Regions from separate parts of the Homo sapiens genome. Here region 1 is linked to region 2. The links are contacts of gene promoters, found by promoter capture Hi-C in blood cells and fetal thymus (Javierre and others, 2016). All regions are on one chromosome and are shown on one strand. Each heading gives the region's core, a stretch centred on a gene start or on the middle of the fragment in contact. The rest is flanking DNA. Distances are from core to core; before and after follow the strand shown. Region 1 has its middle 89 kb from the start of SGIP1. Region 2 holds the start of PDE4B (phosphodiesterase 4B).

Region 1 (4,008 bases), core at 1,016-3,515, 650 kb before region 2:
CTCCAAAATTCCATGAGAATGACCTGAATCTTGATGTCTCATTCTCCAAGACTCAAGAAAGCACATATATTTGCATTCTCAGACTGATAGCAACTGAATGGTTATCATTCAAGGAGAACTTGTGAAAGCCTCCCCTTCCCCAGAAATGTCCACATCAGGAGCTTGGCGTTTAAGAGGTCTCTATGTTCTGGTATCTGAGCTGTCTGAGGGTCACTTTGGATTACAGATTCAGGAGTGAGAGGGACCTGGTAGTGAAGACCGCAGACTAGAGATGCTTGTAAGAATAACAGGGGGAGAGAGATTTCTGAAATTGGTATATGGATTTTTGTAATTAACATTTGCTATATCCCCAGTGTCTAGTATAAGCTCTGACAAATCAGAGACTTTAGAATAAATCCTTGTCGGTTGAATTAAAAAAATCATGAACCCTTTTTGAGCTTTAGCGACAGTATTGCTTTCTACCACTAGATGGTGGTGTAAAACCACTTTCTCTCTCTCTCAGGCACACAAAATGGCCTTCGTTGTTTTCTGGCCTTCCAAGCAGAAGATTCATCTCCCCAGTCTCAGCTTTTCAAATAATCTCAATCTGGATATCACGCGGCCTTTTCTTTCTGAGAAAAGCTTGAAATCTTTCAGATTCATTCTTGAAAGCTGTGATTTTTCCAGCAACACGTCTACTAATATTTGATTCACACTGGGAAGATTTCTATGGCTGTGACATCCAGAATGCAGATACATCTATGGAGCATGGTTGTTGTTGTTTTGGTCAGAGGTGGCAGTGTAGATTAATTAATGGAAAGAAAAGAAACCAGAAATTGTGAGATTTGGATACCAGACTCAACATCTCTGTGCCTTTCCTCAAATTAAAAATATCCAACTTGGCCGGTGATTTTCAAATTGTTCTCTTGTTCCACAATGACCTAAGGAAACTTCAGAGACAAGTCCAGCTGACAAGGTGTGTGCATGTGTGTGCGTGCATTTGCACATGTGTGTGCACATGTGTGTTTGGTGATTGGAGCAAGTATGAAAGGTTCAGTTATGTTGATGCCCCTCCTAGCCCTCACATTTGTGGTTCTAAGTTCTTTCGTTTTCATGATTGAATTTTTCACCCTGGTCTACTTGAGTGCATACTAAGAGATGTGGGGCTCTGGACCAGCCTGAAAGGAGACCCCTGCAGTCTCTGTTCATCTCCAGCACCCTCCTCTTCTCTCTCCTGGTTCTGTCTTTCTACTGTCTTGCTGAGCTCTTGCTGCCTGGCTCAAATAACTCAACACAGCAACAAGAGGTATTTGGAGAAGGGTTGGAGAGACAGAGTTTTCATGGCAGTGCAATTAATTGAAAAAGAAAAGAGCCAGTTCTTATAATGAGCCTGAGTAAGTACATAAACAGAAACTGAATGTCAAGACTCTCAAACAGGAAAGCGTCACCCCAGCAGGCTGTGCACAGAGGCAGGAACAAAGCCCACAGAGGCAGGAACAAAGCCCACAGAGGAAGAAACAAAGCACATAGAGAAGAGGGTCGCAAAGATGGACAGGTGGGACCATGAAGTTAAACAGCTCCACGAGCATGCTTTGAGTGTCTACTATGTGCTGGGCTCTAAGGATATGGAAACAAATGTAAGGAAATCTTAGGAATTGGGAGAGAGGTTCCAAACTAGAGAGCTACCAGGCCCTATTTAAGTGCTTTGACAGTAGGAGGGACAGAGTGCCAGGAAAATTCAGAGAAAAGGTACCAAATTTAGTGTTGGTGGGTTTGGGAGACTCCCTGAAGGAACTAATGCACAGAAAAAAAAAGGAAAGGAAAAGAAAGGAAAGGAAAGGAAAGGAAAGGAAAGGAAAGGAAAGGAAAGGAAAGGAAAGGAAAGGAAAGGAAAGGGAGGGGAGGGGAGGGGAGGGGAGGGGAGGGGAGGGGAGGGGAGGGGAGGGAAGGGGAGGAGAGGGGAGGGAAGGGAGAAGGGTGGGAGGGAGGGAGAAATAAAGAGAGAAAGAAGAAAAGTTTGTATGAGCTTAAAATTGTCTCTCTAATCCTTCTCCAAATACCTCTTTCCTGATGCTGACGTGTTGACTTATTTGGGCCAGGCAGCCAGAGCTCAGGGTGACATTAGAAAGACAGCACCACGGGAGGGAATAGGAAGGTGGTGGGGGTGAGCAGAGACCTGCATTCATTCTTAGCTAAAGGGTTATCTCTTTTCAGGAGAAATTTTTATCAGACTTCTTTAATATATATTTGGTAGTTGGTTTTATACAATTATGTAGTATTAATAGCTACTCTTCGTTAAGTTCTAAGCATAGTTCTAGGCAATTTACATACAATTCCACATTTAATCCTCACAACAATCCCTTGAGCTAGGCAGTAGTATCAAGATCTTTATGTTGAAAACTGTTTTATGGAAAATTTTAAGCTCACACCAACTTTCTTTCCTTCCTTCCTTCCTTCTTTCCTTCCTTCCTTCCTTCTTTCCTTCCTTCCTTCCTTCTTTCTTCCTTTCCTTTCTTTCTCTCTCTCTCTCTTTCTTTCATCTCCATTTTACCCATCACCCAGTATGAAGAGTTATCAACTTGGAGCCAATTGTGTTTCATCTAGGCCCCCCACACTTTCAGATGTCAGTAGTATGTTAAAGCAAATTCCAGATGTCTTGTCATTTTATCTGTACATCACTCAATATGTTAATCTAAAATATAAGGATACTTCGAAAAATGTGAACACGAGTCTACTTTCAGGGAAGGTGGAGTAGCAGGGATTGAATTTATCCTCCTGCCTGAAACAACAACAATAACAACAAAAGAAAAAAAAATACGTGAAAGAGTTTTTGAAGTTTCTAGACATCAGGCAATGAGGGACAGTGACACCTGAAGCAAGCAAGTTGAAGCCATTGCCAGAGCTTATTGCCTTGAGGAAGTCCAGGTGTGACCAGGGAGGAGGAACACAAGAGGAGCCTGATGGACTTCCAGAGCAGGGCTTTGTGAAAATTAATAATTTGATTATAGAATTCAAATGGAAGTGCAAATGACTTGGAATAGCCAAAACAACTTTGAAAAAGAAGAGCAAACTTGAGCCTGGGAGGTCAAGGCTGCAGTGAGCCATGATCATGTTACTTCACTCCAGTCTGGGCAATAGAGGGAGGCCCTGTCTCAAAAATAAACAAAATTAGAAGAGCAAAGTTGGAGGAGTAGCCTTACATGATTTCAAGACATTATACAGCAAAGACATGGAACCAATGCAAAAGCCCATGAATAGTAGACTAGATAAAGAAAATGTGCTACGTACACACCATGGAATACTATGCAGACATAAGAAGAATGAGATCATGTCCTTTGCAGGAACATGGATGGAGCTGGAAGTCATCAACCTTAGCAAACTAACTCAGGAACAGAAAACCAAATACCTCATGTTCTCACTTATAAGTGGGAGCTAAATGAGGAGAGCGCATGGACACATAGAGGGGAACAATACACACTGGAGCCTACCTAAGGGTAGAAAGTGGGGCAAGGGAGAGGAGCAGGAAAAACAACTAATGGGTATTAGACTTAACACCTGGGTGGTGAAATAATCTATACAACAAACCCCTCTGACATGAGTGTACCTATGTAACAAACTTCCACATGTATCCCTGAACTTAAAAGTTAAAAAAATGACTTATAAAGTTACAGTCATCAAAACAGTATATGGTATTGGTGTTAAGATAGGCAAGTAAATCAGTGGATCAGAATAGAGGGTCCAGAAATAAACTACACACACACACACACACACACACACACACACACACACACACACACACATATATATATATAGAGAGAGAGACAACTGATTTCTAGTGAAGGTACAAAGGAAATTCTATGGAGAAAGGATGATCTTTTCAGCAAATAGTGCTGGAAAAAATGAATAGTTGTATGCAAAAAATGAAGCTTGATTCATAATTTGTACAATAAACAAAAATGAATTTAAATTTAAAACCTAAAGCTGTGAAACCTCTAGAACATAGGAAACTTTTGTGACTTTGGGTTAGGC
Region 2 (4,481 bases), core at 310-2,809:
TAAAAACACTGAAATCTCCAAATTTGTTTCGTTTTTATGAATATAATTGGTATAATAACAGCTTTTGGCAAAAGGAAACGGAGGGGGAGTATGATCTACTAATAAAAATAGTATCTGGACATTTATTACTTTTTTTATGCTTAATGTGCCTTTCATTCTTATAACTTAGCCAAGAGTTTTCCAGCAGCTGGAAATCTTTGAAATTAAACGATGCATGTGATTCAAAGAACAGTTATATCTCAGATCTAAGATGCAGAATGCATAGAGTTACCATTTCTGTTCAGTGGCATCATATAATTATGATGTAAACCTAATGTAAGTACAATGTAATTTTAGGTGACCGTCTCAAAGTCTTGCTAAAAATTATCCCAGGCACGTGTGTGACACACACAGACACACACACACACATATATAACTACTGTAATTAAGAGCGATTCTTCTGTGCGCTCCTCCTTATACACGCTTTAAAGCTGTTGGCCATAGTGGGTTCCGATTTGTGTTTGAAGTACCGCACAAGGAAGGTGGCCTGTGAAAAACGGGAAGGAAGGAGGCAAAACAGGAAGATGGAAGAAGAGAGTAGGCATGAAGGAAAGTGACAGGAGAAAGGAGGAGAGCCTCTTCCTTCCCCAACACACTCTTGTAGCTAGAAAGGTCCAAGCCCCCTCACCAAACACCAGACAAATCTTCCCAAAAGTTCCTGGCAGAGCCTTGGTGATGCCGAGGCTTGAGTGCGCCCCTCCTTGGTGCCCCAGCCACCAGGGCACGCAGGAGCATCCTGGAGCCTCAGCCCAGCAAACTCTTGGGTAGTTCAGGTTCCCTTCCGCGCCCGCTGCCTGCAGTCAATCACTGGGCACCGCGCGCCCATCCGTCACCTACTCCAGGGCTTCCAAGCCCTGAATCCTTCTGCCTCTCTCCATTCTCCCTTAGCCTCTCTCCATCCTCTCCTCCCCAGTGACTTGTCAAGAGGTCCAAGGGCGGAAGCCGAAGCAGAGAAGATGAGGGCGAAAGGCTAGGGGCCGGTTGGCGGATTTCCTACAAGGGGCGACAATGACGCCGTCAAGACGACCATCCAGGCCCGGCGGCCCCATTCCCTCTTTGCCCCACATCAGCCCCACAGCACCCTACACTCTCCATTGAGGCTTCAGTGTGTGATGAAGTAAGAGAATGAGGAAAAATAAACCCGCAGCCTCCTAGGCAGCCCTTACCTCAGGCTGCCCTCGCAGAAGCCGCCCTCCTCCTGCCCGAGGCGCCTCTGCTGCACCGCCGCGGCCGCAGCGCTCTGGACGCCGGGGCTCCGCCCGGCGCGGGTAGACCATGCGCTGCGAGTGAGCCTTCCGCGCTCCCGGGGGTGGGGGACGAAAGTCTGCCCGGAGGGCGCTCGCGTGCAGCCCGGCCCGCGACGAAGAGCCTGCAGCCGCTGAGGCGAGGCCAGGAGCCCCGGGAAGGGGCGCGCGGGCCGGGGGCGCGCGCGCGGACGGGCCAGCGGGCTAGCCTGGGGAACCCGCGCCAGGGAGACACAGGCGCTGGCGACGCGCCCCTCAGCTCTTCTCTCGTCCTCTGGCCCTTTAAACCCCCTCTCCCTACTGTCCACCCCCGCCCCCCGGAAGAGAGACAGCTCGCCGGTGCCACTTGGTCTGCCGCGCTGCGCTCCTCAGCCGGGTGCGGGGAATAACAATGTGACCGTATCGCACGGACGAGATGCTGTGTAGTAGGTTGTAACTGCTGAGGCCACCACCTGTCAATTCTAGGGTGCAAAGCACGCCGTCCCCAGTCGTCTGGCCTCTCCCTGATTGCCCTCCCAGGTTATTTTTTCCCCCACCTACCTCACAGACCTCCTGCAATATTCCGCGGGCACGGTACCAGGGGAGTTTTGCAAAATAACCCTCTCTCCCAGCCGGGAGCTCACTGCATCTCCCTTACCACCAGAGCTGAAGGATTACGCACAGCCCTGCGTGCCTATCCAAAGCCAGAGACCGAAAATCCTGGTTTGAACCCCACACTCGCCGGCCCCCCAGCCCCCATTCATAATCCCAGCGGCCGTCTGCCACTACACACCCTCCCCCGGCCGCCCGCGCTCTTTCCCATTCGCCGTCCCTGGAACGTGTCAGTCACTCGCTGTGCATCTGCCATGAATACAAGACGAAGAGCTCTGCAGCTACTGGCTGCACAAAGAGGGACTGGGGCGCAGGGGACGCAGACCCCCGGGTTGGGGGAGGCGAGAGAGCCAGCGGGGCACATTACGTGGAAGGAGCCAGTGGGACCGTGGGAGTCCTCTGGTCTCCTGTTGCACAAAGGAGCGCCAGAGTGAATACGCGCAGTGCTCCTGAACCAACAGGTCAGATCACCTCCCAAGAGGTGCTCCACCAAGACACCCCTGAAGGTGAGTCCCACAACTTGGGAATTCGTGTGATGGAGCAACAGGCACTCAGTAACCTGACTGAGCCTGCTTTAAAAATGCAACAGGATGGAGAGAGAGCGAGAGCGAGAGCGAGAGAGAGAGAGAGAGAGAGAGAGAGAGAGTGTGTGTGTGTGTGTGTGTAGAGTGGGAGAGGTATGCTGGAAAGCACAAGTTTCCTTTTCCCCGGTTGTCCAGCCCTTTCAGTCAGAGAAAAAAAGAAGGAAGCTGGCAAGGAAAAGAGGAGGAAGATAGGCATGAAGTAACTTTGCCTATCCAACTACTACAGTAGCTAGAGACCAAAATGACTTTAATAGACAACATTCGCCTGTTTCTCGATTTATTCCAATAAACATCATGCACACCTACTGTGCACTGAGCACTTTGCAGAAGCTAAGGATGCAGAGTCGATTAGGACATAGTCTCTGCACCCAAGGAGCTCACTGCCTAATAGGAGAACCAACTATGAAAGCCCGAGACAAACAACACAAGTATTTCACAACAGAAGCACATGCCAATTGCATAAGTGGAAGCAATTTTTTCTATGTAAGAGAAGGAACAGGTCAGGGAATTTAAATCCCATCTGAACTGTGTATTAAAGGACAAATAGGGACCTCCCAAAGAAGGGCAATAACCTAATAACCTACTATTCACCCATTCACCCAAAATAGCTTTACATGCCTGTACATTGAAAGGCATGTCTAAGAGCTTATCAGTGTAGGAACTTAATGAACTTTCCCCTTCATGGTTTTGGAGGAAACATATTCAAACACTAGCGTTTGGAGTATAAAACACCTATTTCCCCACATCTGAGATGCTACCAAGTGTTCGCTGGTTATTCTGCCTTTTTGGACCTGTTGCTTACACTATACCATCTACCTCATCCATAACCTTGAAATTGAGCCCAAAGCCAAAATTAATAATAGTGAGGCAATAAGCACCTGAAAGGAAGCCAACAAAATCCGCAATGTAGTCATTGTTCTCACAGTTTTCATCTGTAAAATGATGATAATGGAATCTCTTTTTCTGAACTACAGTTAGGATTAGTTAGATGTATTAAATATAAGGCAACCATTGCCTAAAGAGAGTGTAAGGAATCTAAATTGTAGTTCAATCTAGGGGAAAAAAAGAACCAATTTGAGCATCATGCTGCCCCTTTTTGAATATGAGAAATTTGAAAGGTATTAATAATTACTAAGCCTCCCAAGGTTATTACATCATCTTCAGAAAAATGTGTCCAAAGAGTTCTTACTGCAAAAAGAATTATATACGGATTCCAGTAGAAAATGATGTCAGCTTTTTAAGCATCTTTCTCATCTCTTTCTAAAAATTACATAAACTAACAAAGAGAATGGAAAAAAACTGTCAAACACCATTTTCAACAAATTTATATAGATTTTACCTACAAACCCCAAAGCGCTTCTAAAGGTTACCAAAAGCAGCTGAGTTTGGGCAGAAGTCATATGGAAAAGGCCCAGGGAGAGGCAATGGGAACCAGCACTAGAAGTATCAGAAAGTGCCAGCAAAAGTATGTTTTCTGGGAAATGAGAGGTGTGTCGTAAAATGCAAAGCTGTCTCTCAAAAACTGGAGCAGAAGCAGAAGGAAGAAGGCAAAAGAGATACATACATACAGATGACAAAAGGAGAACAGGGAGTTCCCAGAAACATGGTAGGAGCAGATCTCAGGGTCAGCAAAACTTTAGTGCTTGAAGATGGTCAAATCACTATGAAATGTAAAAGTCCTGTTCCTTCTTTTTAAGAACTGGGGAGCAGAGAACTACTGGAAAAGGATCTTCTGGACATAATTCCCTTCAGAGTCTCAGAGGAAGTGAGTATACAAAGATGCCATAACTACTAAAAGCAGTCTGTTTGTGAGGCAACAGTAAAAGTGAATCCATAATCTATTGCTGCATAACAAGCCACCCGAAACAATGGTTTAAAAAGCTACCAGTGATTTGCCTACAATTTAGTGAGATGGAAAATTGGGATGGGCTCAGCTGTGTGGGCTCAATGGCTAATCTCTGCCCCATGCGGTATCAGCAGGTCTTACTCACAAATCTGGGCCTCTGGAAGGGATGGCTTGGAC

What was found. Contacts are between HindIII fragments. The CHiCAGO score rates a contact against its expected background, and 5 or more counts as called.
Region 1: a fragment that was not itself captured here is called in contact with the fragment with the promoter of PDE4B in region 2 in 1 of 17 cell types (monocytes); the score reaches 5.1 in monocytes.

What each region holds. Positions count from the first base shown.
Region 1 is chr1:66,443,065-66,447,072 of GRCh38, reverse strand. No RefSeq gene overlaps it. Among named protein-coding and RNA genes, the nearest start is that of SGIP1, 89 kb to the left of the region's middle. RefSeq lists enhancers at 383-432, 443-492. The HindIII fragment of the contact is 3,284 bases long and covers 624-3,907 here.
Region 2 is chr1:65,789,973-65,794,453 of GRCh38, reverse strand. It overlaps PDE4B (phosphodiesterase 4B), which reads right to left and starts at 1,559. Exons shown (of 17, transcript NM_002600.4): 1 at 1,206-1,559. The HindIII fragment of the contact is 11,219 bases long and covers 1-4,481 here.